Regions from separate parts of the Homo sapiens genome. Here regions 2, 3, 4, 5 and 6 are each linked to region 1. Evidence: promoter capture Hi-C in 16 types of primary human blood cells and fetal thymus (Javierre and others, 2016). All regions are on one chromosome and are shown on one strand. The core of a region is centred on a gene start or on the middle of the fragment in contact, and the rest is flanking DNA. Distances in the headings are between cores, read along the strand shown. Region 1 holds the start of CH25H (cholesterol 25-hydroxylase). Region 2 overlaps LIPN (lipase family member N). Region 3 overlaps LIPM (lipase family member M). Region 4 has its middle 4.2 kb from the start of ANKRD22. Region 5 has its middle 5.7 kb from the start of STAMBPL1. Region 6 overlaps STAMBPL1 (STAM binding protein like 1).

What was found. Contacts are between HindIII fragments. The CHiCAGO score rates a contact against its expected background, and 5 or more counts as called.
Region 2: a contact is called between a fragment that was not itself captured here and the fragment with the promoter of CH25H in region 1, in 1 of 17 cell types (activated CD4 T cells). The highest score is 5.3, in activated CD4 T cells.
Region 3: a contact is called between a fragment that was not itself captured here and the fragment with the promoter of CH25H in region 1, in 1 of 17 cell types (activated CD4 T cells). The highest score is 5.3, in activated CD4 T cells.
Region 4: a contact is called between a fragment that was not itself captured here and the fragment with the promoter of CH25H in region 1, in 2 of 17 cell types (total CD8 T cells and erythroblasts). The highest score is 6.2, in total CD8 T cells.
Region 5: a fragment that was not itself captured here is called in contact with the fragment with the promoter of CH25H in region 1 in 2 of 17 cell types (activated CD4 T cells and neutrophils); the score reaches 5.9 in activated CD4 T cells.
Region 6: a contact is called between a fragment that was not itself captured here and the fragment with the promoter of CH25H in region 1, in 1 of 17 cell types (total CD8 T cells). The highest score is 5.1, in total CD8 T cells.

The regions. Positions count from the first base shown.
Region 1 is chr10:89,206,028-89,208,606 of GRCh38, reverse strand. It overlaps CH25H (cholesterol 25-hydroxylase), which reads left to right and starts at 1,290. Exons shown (of 1, transcript NM_003956.4): 1 at 1,290-2,579. The coding sequence starts at 1,315. The coding sequence ends at 2,133. RefSeq lists an enhancer at 1,449-1,518. The HindIII fragment of the contact is 3,745 bases long and covers 1,197-2,579 here.
Region 2 is chr10:88,779,597-88,782,175 of GRCh38, reverse strand. LIPN (lipase family member N) reads right to left here. Exons shown (of 10, transcript NM_001102469.2): 10 at 2,550-2,579. Among named protein-coding and RNA genes, the nearest start is that of LIPN, 21 kb to the right of the region's middle. The HindIII fragment of the contact is 2,210 bases long and covers 170-2,379 here.
Region 3 is chr10:88,805,730-88,808,308 of GRCh38, reverse strand. It overlaps LIPM (lipase family member M), which reads right to left. Exons shown (of 9, transcript NM_001128215.1): 2 at 1-11. Among named protein-coding and RNA genes, the nearest start is that of LIPM, 4.3 kb to the right of the region's middle. The HindIII fragment of the contact is 3,495 bases long and covers 1-2,579 here.
Region 4 is chr10:88,854,763-88,857,341 of GRCh38, reverse strand. No RefSeq gene overlaps it. Among named protein-coding and RNA genes, the nearest start is that of ANKRD22, 4.2 kb to the right of the region's middle. The HindIII fragment of the contact is 2,500 bases long and covers 23-2,522 here.
Region 5 is chr10:88,873,268-88,875,846 of GRCh38, reverse strand. No RefSeq gene overlaps it. Among named protein-coding and RNA genes, the nearest start is that of STAMBPL1, 5.7 kb to the left of the region's middle. The HindIII fragment of the contact is 7,787 bases long and covers 1-2,579 here.
Region 6 is chr10:88,895,590-88,898,168 of GRCh38, reverse strand. All of the region lies in intron 1 of STAMBPL1 (STAM binding protein like 1), which reads right to left. Among named protein-coding and RNA genes, the nearest start is that of STAMBPL1, 17 kb to the right of the region's middle. The HindIII fragment of the contact is 2,544 bases long and covers 4-2,547 here.

The DNA.
Region 1 (2,579 bases), core at 41-2,540:
CCCTTGTATCGTGTCATGTGTCAGACCCCGGGTTGAACGCGAGGATTTTTGTGCTGTTCCCAGGGTCTCTCAAGAGCTCTCCTAGTACCGACCTCCTTGTGCTCGGTGGCCCCTGGCCCGAGGACCCCAGATGGGTGGCGGAGAAACGCAGGGGATAGAGACTAGCCCCCTAGCCGGGCTCCGTGGGCCCGGAGTGGATTCAAGGACCGGTGGCAGAGGGCGACTGCAAGTTGGCCCCGCAAAGCCAACAAGGGGAAGGGTAGGGTAGTGACGACATCACCTGGTCCTTCAATAGCCTCCCGGGAGGCTTCAGGAACTCACATCTCTTTCCCTTGACGAACAACGCAGGTGGTTTGCTGAATTAAGTGTTCCCGCCCCAAATTGAGATACAACGGGCTTTTTAGCCAGATTGGCGCAGACTGGGAGTTAAATCCAGCATTTTCCCGGCAAAGCTGAGCCTGGCCGCCGCGGAGCCCTCTTTCCGCTGTGCGGTGCCTCCGGCTCCGATCGCGGGCCCGGCGCCCCGGGACGCGCCGCCGAGGGTAGCTACGCGGCCGGGCTGCGGCCTCTCCCGGAGAGCCTGCGTGCGTGGTCTCTCTAGCTTGCTGCCCGCCGGCCAGGAAAACTCTGGGGACAAGCTGGAGCTGGCGGAGGTTCCCATCCGGCCACCCTTCCCGTCTGATTTCCTGAGCTGACGGTCACCGCCGGCGTTCGGGGACCAGCGGTTCCCTGTGCAAAGGGCTCGTTTCTCGATCGCCGCTGGATAGACCGCAACCGGGTTCTCAGAAAACACCCGAGCTACAGACCGCATGTAGCTTTAAACAGTTTTTAAAATGCGATTATGCTTGCGTCTTTATGAAAGCACATGGATGCAGTTATACGTATGCATTAAAAAACACAAACAATTCTGCATTGATTGCAAAGGAGCGCTTTCTGGTGGCAATGTAAACGGTCTAGTTTGAGACCCGTGATGACACACGTGAACTGAGTTGCCAAACTCATAGAAACTCCACACGGTAGATCTGTACATTGTGTCCCGTGTTAATTGTACGTCAACTGAAAAATCAGAACTTACATGAAAAGTACGAAGTGCCACTGCATACACGCATATCTAAAAGCCGGTAAGATGCGGCTATAGATGAGCACATTTACAGCAATGAAGGGCCACTCTGCCGGGTTGCTAGCTTATTCAAGCTTCGCATCGCCGGGAAAGGGATGGAAAGGCAGCTGACATCACTCGGGGCGGGGCCGTGAGTCCTGTGAAAAGTCGATGGGACTCGAGCAGCAGCCTCAGCTGCCTTGCACAGCCTCGCAATGAGCTGCCACAACTGCTCCGACCCCCAGGTCCTTTGCAGCTCCGGGCAGCTGTTCCTGCAGCCCCTCTGGGACCACCTGAGGAGCTGGGAGGCCCTCCTACAGTCGCCCTTCTTCCCGGTCATCTTCTCCATCACCACATACGTGGGCTTTTGCCTGCCCTTCGTGGTCCTGGATATCCTGTGCTCCTGGGTGCCCGCCCTGCGGCGCTACAAGATCCACCCTGACTTCTCGCCATCCGCGCAGCAGCTGCTACCTTGCCTGGGGCAGACCCTCTACCAGCATGTGATGTTTGTGTTCCCCGTGACGCTGCTGCATTGGGCCCGCAGCCCGGCCCTCCTGCCCCACGAAGCTCCCGAGCTGCTCCTGCTGCTGCACCACATCCTGTTCTGCCTGCTACTCTTCGACATGGAGTTCTTCGTGTGGCACCTGCTGCACCACAAGGTGCCCTGGCTGTACCGCACCTTCCACAAGGTGCACCACCAGAACTCGTCCTCGTTCGCGCTGGCAACGCAGTATATGAGCGTCTGGGAACTGTTTTCTTTGGGCTTCTTCGACATGATGAACGTCACACTGCTCGGGTGCCACCCGCTCACCACCCTGACCTTCCACGTGGTCAACATCTGGCTTTCCGTGGAGGACCACTCCGGCTACAACTTCCCTTGGTCCACTCACAGACTGGTGCCCTTCGGGTGGTACGGGGGTGTGGTGCACCACGACCTGCATCACTCTCACTTTAACTGCAACTTCGCTCCGTACTTTACACACTGGGACAAAATACTGGGAACGCTGCGGACTGCATCTGTCCCAGCGCGGTGATGTGGCTGCGGTGGGTGCCCCTAAGACTCGGGACTGCTGTGCCTTTCACACTTGAATGAAGAGAAACACCTGAGCTATATATTTTTTTAAAGCAACTAACTTATTGCTTTATGTTTATCTATGAAAACCATAGATAAAATCTGATGCATTTTTGTAATCTGACAAAGTAATTTACATACTGTTTGTGTATCAATACAATTTTGTGTTCTTGGTATTCTTAGTCTAGCTCACCTCAATAGCCTTGAATCCTGCATATGAATTAGACATTCATCACTGGCATATTTAGAATATCTCTAAAAGGACTTGTTTGTAGAATAAGGAATTTTCTATGTTTCAAAGTGTTCTAAAACCTGGCTAAAAGAATGTATTTTTGTGGATGGTGTTGACTTCTGACTCTAAAAGCAATCAAACATGTTTCTGCTGGACAGTGACCAAGAATTATAGTA
Region 2 (2,579 bases), core at 25-2,524, 430 kb after region 1:
ATAATCACATCAGGGTAAATAGGGTACTCATCACCTCAAGCATTTATCCTTTGTGTTACAAACCATCCAATTATACTCTTAGTTATTTTTAAATGTACAATTAAATTATTGACTATAGTCACCCTGTTGTGCTATCAAATACCATACAAGTGCTTATTTTGATTAAGCTTATTAAGGCCACATCATATCCCAAATAAATAATCTTTCTTAGCTAAGTTGACTGCTTTGATAAGGAAAGAAATTCACACACCAACTAAAATGGCCAATATGTGTAGAAGGTACAAAAAGAAGAAAGGTTTGACTCCAGAATTCCTCCATAAATGGAATTTATGGACAATCTTATAGGAAATAGAATGGAGGAGAATGATGAAACTTTCTTGAAGGTGCATTCCATAGAAAGCGTACTGTTTTTATAGAATTTACCTTTTTATATCTATATACTAAAAATTGTTGGTGTTTTATATTAATACTTCACATAGATTTTTAATGATTGCACACTATTATTACTGTGATTACTTTTATTTGGTTTGGCTCTGTGGGAGATATGATGATGCTGATGGAGGTTTTGACAGAGCTAAAGACATGTCACATCTTGACAATGGCTGGAGGAAGGACTTCATAGTCAATCAAGGTATAAATACTAGCAATCTGTTTTCACCCTACTCCAAAGCACTTCTTAAATCACATTAGAACTCAAAAATGTAATGAGAACCACGTCACTGTTTTGCAATCTCTAAATGCCAAATTAAAATATGAATCAAGGATTGTGTAGTCAAGTCAATGGGAACTCTGACTTGAGTAACATTTTCCCTTGAGGCAGTGTACAGATTACAAAAGGTATTAGCACAGAAAATTTAGCTTTGGGTGGGACTTGCAATTAAGTCAAATTAATGAATCTGAGCGGAGTGTTTTTTTTTTTATTTTCAAGACATGCCATTAAGCAGTGAAACACCAAAAAGATAAAGCCAAAACTTGGAAATAACCCACGTGTTTTTCAGTGAGTGAATAGTTAAACAAACTGTGGTGCATGCATACCGTGCAATGCTATTCAGCAATAAGGAGGAACAAACTTGATATATGCAACAACTTGGATAGATCTCAAGGACATCATGCTGAGTAAAAAAAAGCCAATATCAAGGCCACATACTCCATGATTTTATTTATAAGACATTATAGCAATGGAGAACAGATAAGTTGTCAGGGATCAAGTTCAAGGAGAGCTGGTCATGGTGGTAGTGGTGGTTGACCATAAAGGAATAGCAAAAGTGAATTTAGTGTGGTAATGGAGAGTTCTATATCTTAAATGCTTCTGTTTTCAAGCTACTTAAAATTTATTAGGGCAGTAGACTTACACAGAACTCTCCAAAAAGATAATTCAGAAGCATAATAAAAAGTGATTTAAGCTGGGCGCGGTGGCTCATGCCTGTAATCCCAGCACTTTGAGAGGCCGAGGCGGGGTGGATTGCCTGAGGTCAGGAGTTCGAGATCAGCCTGGCCAACATAGTGAAACCCTATCTCTACTAAAAATACAAAAAATTAGCTGGGCATGTGATGGGCACCTGTACTCCCAGCTACTTGGGAGGCTGAGGCAGGAGAATTGCTAGAACCTAGGAGGCAGAGGTTGCAGTGAACTGAGATCGCACCATTGTACTCCAGCCTGGGCAACTTCACTGGGCAACAGTGAAACCCTGTCTAAAAAAAAAAAGTGATTTAGAAGAGGGAACAGTAATTCTAGAACATATAGTTCAGGCAAAACGTTTCAGAAATGGTGGTATTGTGGCCAGACCTTGGAAAATGTGGGTAACCTTCCTATGAGAGGAGAATGCAGAGGTGATCAAAGTTGAACAAAGCCCTGATGGTGAAACACGTGCCTTGTTCTTTGGTTAATGAGTCTCAAAAAGGCTGTCACTTGAGCAAGACTTCGCCTCTCTGAAACTGATTGATTATACCGATTGAAAGAAATTCACCAATGTTCTGAGTCAGAATTTACATTTGACATCAATTTGTATTGAATAACATTCATGTTATTATTTACCTTGTTCTATTAAAAATAGCAATGAGATATTGAGGCTTGGGAAACTGGAGGAACCTGGTAAGTCTGTTTCAAGGTTGTGAGCCAAATTTCTTGCTTTGTATAAGTAAGAAAAATAAGGAGAAACATTGTCAACATATCCAAAAATTTGTATTACAAGTCTGTGGCCAAGTTCCCCATCAGTAAAGTGTTGCTAGACTCCATTCCTGCTTGGAAGTCATCTTGGTATTCCAGACAAAATAATGAAATGTATTATAATTAATCTGACTGCACCTAGCTCTAGTATTAGGACATTTTTCTGGACCCTAGAGTCCTCCAAGGCATGATTCTCCTCCTAAAAGTAAGCTTTTTAAGGCTTTCAGAACCATCAATTAGCCTACATAAAAATGTATAATAAAATATGTATTCTTTTATGTTTATCTTCCTTTACTGAATATTATGTTTGTGAGATTTGGACAAGTTGTAACATTATGTCATTACTATATTAAAAATTAAAAACTATTAATCACTCATCATGTTACTACCCTGACACAACTAATTTTATTTT
Region 3 (2,579 bases), core at 27-2,526, 400 kb after region 1:
ATGATTTCACTCTATGGAAAAAGCACAATTTCTTTTAGGTTCAGTTCTCTGTGGCCATATTCTCAATGATCCAAAAGTAAGAGTAGATTCCTTGATGCTGTAAAACACAGTGAAAGTCCTTGCTTTTCCCTAGCTAATCATGTTACCTTAGAAAAATCTGCTAACCCTCTCTAGTCCTTACTTTCTTTGTCTTAATATGGAAACCGGAATAGAATTATGGTTCTCAAAGTATGGGCCTTGGGACAAAGGCATCAGCATCACTTGGACTAATCTGTTAGATATGCAAATTCCAACCAAACCTACTGAATCAGGAACTCAGAGGACTGGGCCCAGCAGTTTGTGTCTCAAGCTCTTTAGGGAATTTTGATGTACCCTAATGTTTGAGAACCACTGGATCAGAACATTGATTCCAAAACCTCGTTGTGCATCAGAATCTTCTGGGCATTGAAACATACAGAGTCTTGAGCCCACTTCAGGTTACAGATAAGATGGTTCTAAAGCAGCCAGTGGGGCACCTGTTCCAGGACAACTTATGAGCATTCCTGGGCCATGCATTTCCTAAGGTTCTTTCCAGTTCTAAAACCACAGACTCAAGAGCATTGATTCCTAACATTTTCAGGTTAAAGTTCCCTCTGTGAATTTGAGGAGAACTATAAAAATGGATATACAATGGATACAAAAACATGGTTTTGCATTCAATTTCAGGAGTTTCAGATATCTTGTTGCCTACATACGAACCCCTGGTTAAGAATCCTTACTCTATACAGTAGTTACATGTAGACATTCTCTGGAAAATTTGTAGCTGCAAATATCTTCTAAGCATCCTCACTATTCTTGCCCATTGTTATCACTCAGAGAGAAGGAGAGAACCATTTGCATCAGGGGCTGCTTTAAAAAAGAGCAAGAGAGAAGGCCAAACATCACATGCCCAGGTAGAATATAGGGCAAAAACAAAGCATAGTCATTAGGAGAAAGCTCCTGGGTCCCACTGTTTGAGTTTTAACACTGGTTCTAACACTATTACATAAACTAGCTGTATAATCTTGAGAAATTTAGTTAAACTGCTCCTATGCTTCAGTTCATGCATCTGTAAATTAGGAATTCTAATGGTTCATACTCCATGGGACTGTTGCAATAAATGCAAAAAGATAATGCACATATAACACTAACTGTAATTCCCAGCACATAGTAGGAACTCAATAAGCATTAACTACCACTATAATTAAAACTCAATTAACCGAATATTATGGAATGCAGTGTATATGTGTGCATGTATGTGTGTGAGACACCATTGTATACTTAACCTTAAAAAAATGTATAGGCCGGGCACAGTGGCTCACACCTGTAATCCCAGCACTTTGGGAGGTTGAGGTGGGTGGATCACAAGGTCAGGAGATCGAGACCATCCTGGCCAACATGGTGAAACACCATCTCTACTAAAATAATAATAAAAAAAATTAGCCGGGCGTGGTGGTGCATGCCTATAGTCCTAGCTACTTGGGAGGCTGAGGAAGAGGAATTGCTTGAATCTGGGAGGCGGAGGTTACAGTGAGCCAAGATCGCGCCACTGCACTCCAACCTGGTGACAGAGGGAGACTCCATCTCAAAGAAAAAAAAATTTATAGAAGTGTCTCAAATTTTAGCATGCATCAGAATTACTTAGAGGGTTTGTTAAAACACAAATTGCGGGACCCCACTCACAGTCTGATACAGCAGGTCTGTGTGGAACCCAAAAAATTGATATACAAGTTCCCAGGCAAAGCAGATGTTGCTGATCTGACAACTATCCTTCAGGAACCACTGTTGTCAACTATTTGGGGAGTTAAATATATATAAAAACATGAGAATGGAGGACATCTGACAAGTAGTTATTGAGAGGATATGTGTAATGTGTCAGATGAGGGATGAAGGATGAGAGTGAAGGAAGGAGCAAAGGAATTCTGAGCAGGAGGAGCAAAATGAGCAGGGCTGGACAGGCAAGGTCTTATGGAGGAAGAATTTGAACTGGGCCTTGAGGATTGAATAGAAGTTGCTCAAAAGAGCCAAGGAGGTAGGGATAGGGACATGGACATCTGAGAAGAAAAAGAACTACAAATGCTGCAAACATTGTCTACAGGTGGCAAGATGGTCAACATGCTATACTTGGCAGGAAAATTTATGCAGGCAATAAAGGACTGGTCCCATCCACTGGAAGTGCTGTCAACAGATCACCCTTGGCTGTCATTTTCTGTAGGAATGGCCTTAGCTGTAGAAAGCCACTTCCTCCAAGTTCACGTCCCTTCCTGCCACATCCAGTGACTGACCTGTTTGCGGTCTAAAGGCCTGGTCATCTCAGCCCAACGTAGGACATCTCTGAAGAGCAGTTTTAGCTCCATAGCTCCTCATGGAGTTGAGTCTGGCTGTTTTGAAGTCTGTATCACAGTTTGATTTATCTCTTTCCTTACTCCTGATTCTCTACTTCCTTTCCACAGGCGATGATGATGATTCTCCTTAATAAACATTATTGTATGAATTCTGCCTCAGAGTCTGTCCCCCAGAAAATCCAACCTGGGGCAAATACTTATTTAAAAAAATGGAAC
Region 4 (2,579 bases), core at 23-2,522, 350 kb after region 1:
CTCCAGAATCATATAACAAGCTTTCTATTGGCATCTCCACTTAGTGTGCTAGAAATATGTTCCTTAAATAAAATTTGTGCATACCTGAGCTAATCATCTCTTCCCAGGCTTTCCCTAATCTTGCTCTTCCAGAGTTTTCTTTGAAAGATAAAAATCTACCAAATTTCCAAAGCCAGATACATGCATATTATCCTTGTTCTGCCATTTCCCATGTATCTTATATCAGATGGATAATTCTGTTATTTCTAGCTTCTAAACATCTCCATAGTACTATGTTAGTCCAACTTAAGTAAAGAAAACAACCTAGTTATTTAAACACAAAGAATTGAATGTCTGGAATTGGTTAAGTAGGTATTGGAAGACTAGAAAGTAAAAAGAGAATATTAAGGTAACACAGAGATAGAATTGCAGGAACAGCTACCACCCCTTGGACTGAGGGAACAGAGTGAGGTTGGGGTTATTAGAACTTAGGAGAGAAAAGGGCCTTGAAATTCTGGGCCCCAGGCCTTGAGGAGGGGCCATTTCTTGGTAGCTGCTCATACCTCAGAATCGCAAGGAAGGAATTGCATGAATTTGGGTTCGGGGAGAGAAACAATTAGTGCTGGGCACCTCTGAAAGGTATAAATAGGCTGGTTCTGGGAATGTGGAAAATAAGCTCGATCAATTGCTTTTTCTTGGATGAAGAGCTATTGGTGGGATGAGGCCGATAGGATTGCAAGCATATAGAAATGAGTAGATCTCTTTCTCCCTCTTTAGCGTTGTAATCTCACATGGAGTGCTCCTTAGAAAATAGACCAGGTTTCAAGAAAGGGTCATATATGCAAAGCAATCTCCAAACAAGGAAGGAGCCAAGAAACCAAATAATAAGGCAGACAAAATCAGTTTTTTGATAAAGGGTAATTTATTGGGGGAACTTACAGACAGAAGTGTGGCCTGCAGTAGCAAGACAAATAGATCTCCACACCAATACACCCCAGACCCCGGGCTTATATATCATAAGGAAAGGGGATACATGCTCTATAGAGACAATTAAAGACAACCCCCCAGAACAGGCAAGAGTGCTGTGTGCATCATAACCTATATTTGTGTGATAACATCAAGTTTGCTTTGGTCTAAAGGCAGGATTTACAGTAAGTATGTGTTCTTACACTAAGGACAGTAAATAAAGTAGGAATCCGAAGGCATTTATGGGACTGGGGTTAATGAGAAGTCAACATGGTGGATTAGCATCCAAGATGAAGTTAATTTTGTCTCCACATACCAGTAGGAAAAAAAAAAAGCTAGCTTGCAGAATGCCAGGGTAGGCATTGAAGAACCAAACATAGAAAAGTGTGTTCAATGCTAGGAGATAGCTTAATAACTCATAGTTGGCAAAGTCTGTTATTTCTACCTCCTAAACTCTAGAGTTTATCCTATTCTCTCTATCCACACTGCTGCTCTTCTGCCCCAGGTAACTATTATCATGCAGCTGACCTAATGCAATAACCTCCTAACTAGTTGCTGTTTCTTTTTTCCTGCCTCAGATCCACTCTCTGTACAACAGCCAGAGTGAGCTTTATTATATAAATAAAATTCTGATTACAACACTCCTCTACTCAAATCTCTCCAATGGGAGCCAATTTTACAGTAAGTAGCTAGTCAGACATGAGCAGAGTAGGAGAGGGCTCCCCCCACCCACCAGGAATGTCAGGTGAACATCAGGTGATAGTAAGGAGGTTGTTAACCGTCTCTCTAAAATAATAGTTGAGGGCCAGGCGTGGTGGCTCATGCTTGCAATTCCAGCACTTTAGGAGGTCGAGGTGGGCAGATCACCTCAGGTCAGGAGTTTGAGACCAGCCTGGCCAACATGGTGAAACCCCGTCTCTACTAAAAATACAAAAATACAGGTGGCAGGTGTCTGTAATCCCAGCGACTCTGGAAGCTGAGGCAGGAGAATCGCTTGAACCTGGGAGGTGGAGGTTGTAATGAGCTGTGATTGTACCACTGCACTCCAGCCTGGGCAACAGAGCAAGACTCCATCTCAAAAAAAAAAAAATTATATATATATATATATATATATATATATATATAAAATAACAATTGGTCACAGCCAGTGCCAGGGAAAGGCAGTCTCCCAATAGACAGAAAAAACTTGAAACTGGTGATCAGCAGCTTCCTGATAAGATCTCAGGAGTTGGGCGAGTGGGTTCAAGCATGCACATTAAGAGGCAGAATGGCAGAGTTTAACTGGTATATTACCTTCTAGGGACATTCAGCTGGTAAGAGAAGAGTGCTTCAAGTAAGCATGCATACAACTCCAGTAAACACACTGTGCATGCTCCCCTCCCAAATCCTGGTGGGCCACTGCACATGTGGACAGCCCACCAAAGGGCAGAATCAGGGGAGAAGGAATGCAGGACCCTGGAAGTATGCCAACGTATAAAAACCCCGAGTCAAAAGTCAAACTGCACACTTGTCTTTCAAGTTGCCCACTTGGTCCTCTTCCAAATGTACTTTACTTTGTTTATTCCTGCTCTAAAGCTTTTTAATAAACTGTCGCTCCTGCTCTAAAACTTGCCTTGGTCTCTTCTTCCATCCTA
Region 5 (2,579 bases), core at 34-2,533, 330 kb after region 1:
TTTCCTTTTATTTTGGAAGAAAAAATATTTAGTAATTAAAACATAAACAGTCCTGGCGTGGTGGCTTATGCCTGTAATCCTAGCCCTTTGGGTGGCTGAGGTGGGTGGATCACGTGAGCCCAGGAATTCAAGACCAGCCTCTACTAAAAATACAAAAAATTAGCCAGGTATGATGGTGCACACTGTAGTCCCAGCTACTCAGGAGGCAGACGTGGGGGAATCACCTGAGCCTGGGAGGTTGAGGCTGCCATGAGCTGTGATACTGCCATTGGGCTCTAGCCTGGGCAAAAGAATGAGACCATGTCTCCAAAAATAAAAAATTGAAAAAAAAAAAGAAAACAGATTTGGCAGCCAGATAAATATGAAGTGGAATCTGCCACAGTACCTCATTCATGATGGGTACAATATAAATATTTGAGAAAAGGACAAAGGTAAGAATAAAGAAGAGAGGAAGGAAGGAAAGGCACATTATTTCATAAAGAAGAGTGATGAATTGAGTGATTGTGTCTCCCCTGTCATTTGCTTAGTTTATGCCATACATGGAAATAGGCCATTACATTCTAAATAGGTTCATTAACTAATGCTGCATTTGAGCATTTCCCAACTGATGACAAGTGACAAGACATTAATGCCTTTCTCACTGAAAGGGAAATATGGAGCCAGCACTCAGATTTTTTTCTGTTCTACAACATCAGAGCTAGATCTGTTCTGAGAAGCTGCCATAGCCTCAAAGTGTTGGTATTCAAGACAAAGAGGACCTTTCCTGCCTCTGACTGGTCTTAATATGGAGGTCTGTCACTCTATCTTTAAGGTACCCCAAAGGCCATGAGCTTGGAGTAATCTCTCGTCTCCCCATCTGGCAATGCCCTACTAGGATCTTATTTCTTCGAACTGATGGTACAAAAAGAGAATATTTAGTGTTGAATTTACCTTAGTCAGGAGATTAAAACTATTTTCATATACTGTACTGGAATCGTTTGGTGTATGCACACAAAGTGGTGGTTCTCATTGACTGTTCTTGCTGACACCAGATAGGCTGGAGTCCTTGTTCTTTGTTTTAAATTTAGAATTTCCAGGCTCTGGATTATCTCTAAAGACAAAGCATCCAGGGAAAGAAAAGAACTAAGACTCAAATGATTCTACTGGAAAAAAATATCCTTCTCAGAGATTATTATGCACTTTAAAGTATGTGCCTCAGAAATTGTTATATTATTGAAAACACATATTTTTAAAATTCTGGCTTTGTTATTGTTTTTATCAGTAGTTCTCAAAATATGGCTTAGGGATCCCTGACAGCCTGTAAGATCAAAACTATTTAAAAAAAAAAACCACAAACACATTATTTGGCTTTTTCACTGTCATTCTCATGGATTTGCAGTGGAGTGTGTCAGCTACACGTATGATATCACCACAACTAGAATGCAAATGCAGATAGGAGAATCCAGTCATCCTTAAGCCAGACTCAAAATATATTTGTAAAAATAGAAAGCAATGACAGTTTTCTCACTAATTTTTGTTTCGTTTTGGGAAATAAATTGTAATAAAAATGTGAATATTTATTTAGTTTAACGTCATTAATTTACTATTTTTAAATAAATTAATAAAATATGTTTAAAGTTTTTGCTTTATTTTTCAATGCAGTAAACATGGGTAGATATAACCCACAGAAACAAAAGCTCTCTGGAATCCTGAATCATTTTTAAAGATAGTTTTTAAAAACATAAAGAAACCTTTAGGCCAAAACGTTTGAGAAACACTGGTCTATGCTATTAAAGAGTAATAAGTTCCAAATAACCTATTTTTTTATTTGAGGAATTATAACTATGGTAATTTAGCCCGTGTCATTAAATGCAGGAAGCAACTCAATTGCTCCAAAACTGGAAATGGCAGGCACAGTTAATTTTTTCCACTCATGTGATTTATTTTGGTGCTTTCTTCCTGTTACTTTAAACTAAGACAATTTTGTATCCATTATGTCCCCATATCCAGATACTGAATGAGGTTTGGGAAATACATGGAATCTTTTCCTCTGCTGCCATTTGCAAATTGTCCTGGACCTAAGCTACCTGAGCTTATTTTTTCCCATTTGAAAACGGGGAATAATGGCTCTGGATTGCTCTTAAGGTAGTTATGAAGGAAGTGAAAAAGCATTCTGAAAAATTATGTGCTTTGCAGATATTAATATAAGGCTTACTACTAGTAAACATTTCAATATACAGGCAGACATTTGATGAAAAATGTAAATTCTCTTTTCTGCTGATATTATTTAACCCCTTCGATTTAGGTACATAAGGCATTGGTAAATGTGGACCAAATATTAATAGTGTTTGGGGTGTTAGATTTTTTTAAAATACCTTTTTTGCAGGCTGATTTACAAATGTAAAATATATGTTTACAAGGGCAGAAAGGTGGAAGGAGACCTGGCGGGAGGTCATAGAACAGCATCTGATCCCCACAATCAAAATATATAAATATACTCTGTAAAAATTGCATCTCCCCTGGGGCTGCTCCGGTGCAACAGAAATCCTTCCATCATAGACTTTTGCTATTATTTAACACCTATACAGTAGGTTTGAGCA
Region 6 (2,579 bases), core at 26-2,525, 310 kb after region 1:
GCTTTTTAGTGTCCTTAGTAATTAAGAGTGTAAAGGGGTTCCAAGACCAATAAAGTCTGAAAACCACGGCTCTAGATCAACAATGCAAATGAATAAACAAAACAAAAACTCACTATGCTACCTCAATCTAATCAGAAATAAAGTGGGCCAGGAGAATCTAAAACAGGAAAAATTAACAGCAAGTACCACTTGCCATTTGTGCTACTGTGGTCTTACTAAAACAATTAGAAAATTTGAACTGAGGGTACAGTAAGAGGTACTTCACCTCATAGTACTTGAGATCCACAGATGCTAACTAATGGGAAGTATTCAGTATCATGCAAGAATAAAATAAATTCCCCCTCCAAAGTGGAGGTCCAAAGTGCTACAAAGCACACGGTGCAAACAGCCTTTGGAGTGAGATAAGCCTGGGTGTTGAGTCTAGGCTCTATCATTTGCTTGCTAAATATCCTTTACTGAGCCCCCTCCAAGGTTTACTTTACTCATTCGGCAGGGCGCTTGTCACAGCCACACTTCGCTGCTTTTAGAGTGGCTTAAAACTAATGGAAAACATTCATCAGAAACGCCCGCTTTAATCTCAGCCTACTCCCTGACCTCTACCTCACATTCTTGTGGCTTGATAACATCTGATCATCTGAACTACAGCCTTGTGATCTGTTTAACCTCTAAGATATCTCTTCAGAGTTCTTGCTTCAGAGCTCTTGCCTTCTTGCTTTTATTGCTAGCCCCTTTTCCTGACCATAACCTCCAAAGACATCATCATTTTTTTTCTTTAATCTGACCTTTTATAGAGGAGTAGGGGAGTGTCTGCTTTCTGTTAATCCGACTCACAAGAATGTGGGGAATCATGGTGTCAGAACCATACATATTCACAATGAGCACATGGAGGCCAACCCCTGTCCCAGAGATTCAGCTAACAAGTAGCTCCCAGAACCAACTGAGCAGTCGACTGTGCCCAGAGGGGATGTGGCCAAAATGCTGTCTCATCCATAAGTGGCCTGGGAGGGGGTAAGTATCCTCTCCAAATTGGTATTTCACAGCTCTGAGCTTGTAACAGTTTATTCTCTACATAACCATAGCAAAATCCTCTTGGCTTTTGTGTCCCTGCAATGTTTCCAAGTCTGAAGTCCCCCATGGAAACATGGAAGAGTCTCAACAATTCTGCCCTTTAAAATCAGCAGCAAACAATGCAAGAATGAACAGAGGAAAATATCTGACCTAGCATGGTGCTTATTTTGTGATTTTTTCAGCCTTAATTTCCTTTTCTTTTCTTTCTTTCTTTTTCTTAAAATAGTGTGTGTGTGTGCGTGCGTGCATGTATGTGTGTGTTTGTGTGTGTGTGGCAAAGTTCAGAATCCTGACCCATTTTCATCCACAGAGAAATATTTTCCAGAATTCAGAAAGCAGATGATTACCAGGCAGTGAACGGTCTCCTAAGAGACTCAGCATACAGTAAACAGCCAGCGAGACCATCACCCAAATGTGCCATTTTCTCCCAGGCACTTCTTTTGACTTGAGTGCCCTAGTGACCTGGATAAGTAGGTGTGGCCCATTGGCAGTTAAGAGAGGACAGAGCACCTTATACCACCTCCAGCAGTCTCATTTCTAATTGGCCAAACCAACAGCCACTGGGTTAGTGGTCATGTTTTCCAGGAAGAACATGGTGCAATTTACTCAGTTGGAGGTAGACAAAGAAAATTATTGTAACTCAGCCTGTAGGCTGCAATGACCTAATCTGATTTAGATAAAGAGAGGTAAAGGGTCATTCCCATGTCTTAAATGACAGAGACACAAAGAAGGATCTCCTGAGTCACAGTCTTACAGATTGGGCCCTACTTCAGGAAAAATAAATAAATCTAGGCCCACCCTTCATGTCCCTTTTGAAGGATTTTAAAAATTCAGACATCAAAAGCAAAGATTACATTGATTTGTTTTTACACTTATCTTCTATAATATCTGCAATCAGAAATATGCTGTGACATAGATGATAAATTATCTTTACTAAAATATTGATAAGATAAAAACGAAATGATCATAATATTAGAAATAGCTTTTATTGGATTTTTTCCCTATATTTGTAAGTACTATATATTATCATTTACTAGGTGCCAGGTGCTTGTCTGTTACTTCTAGAGGTATATTCCACATTAAATATACCAGTCACAACAGAATGGTTTATATTAGATCAATGAGCAAGAATGTAGTTGTTACAGGAAAGATGATTAAACAAACCACTCCTGATGCATGTGTTAAATTACCTTGAGGTAGATCTAGGCTACTGTGAGTGCAAGAAAGTCACATACTGGGCCATAAAATAATTATTTTGCATAGTGTAATACAAACTTTTTATCCAGCCACCAAGATGAAGTGGTTCGGTGCCCTTAGCACGAAGAGCTCAGGTTTGGGGGCCATATACTACTTTAGGAGGGGCCAGTTTCTATCACTAGTTGGGAGTGCTACAGCAGCTTATTTAACCTTTTTGTGCACCTTATCTTCATCTATTAAATAGGCACAACAATAGCTTTCCAGAAGAATTCAACTAAAGCTTAAATGAGGTAATAAAGTTCCATTATAGTTCC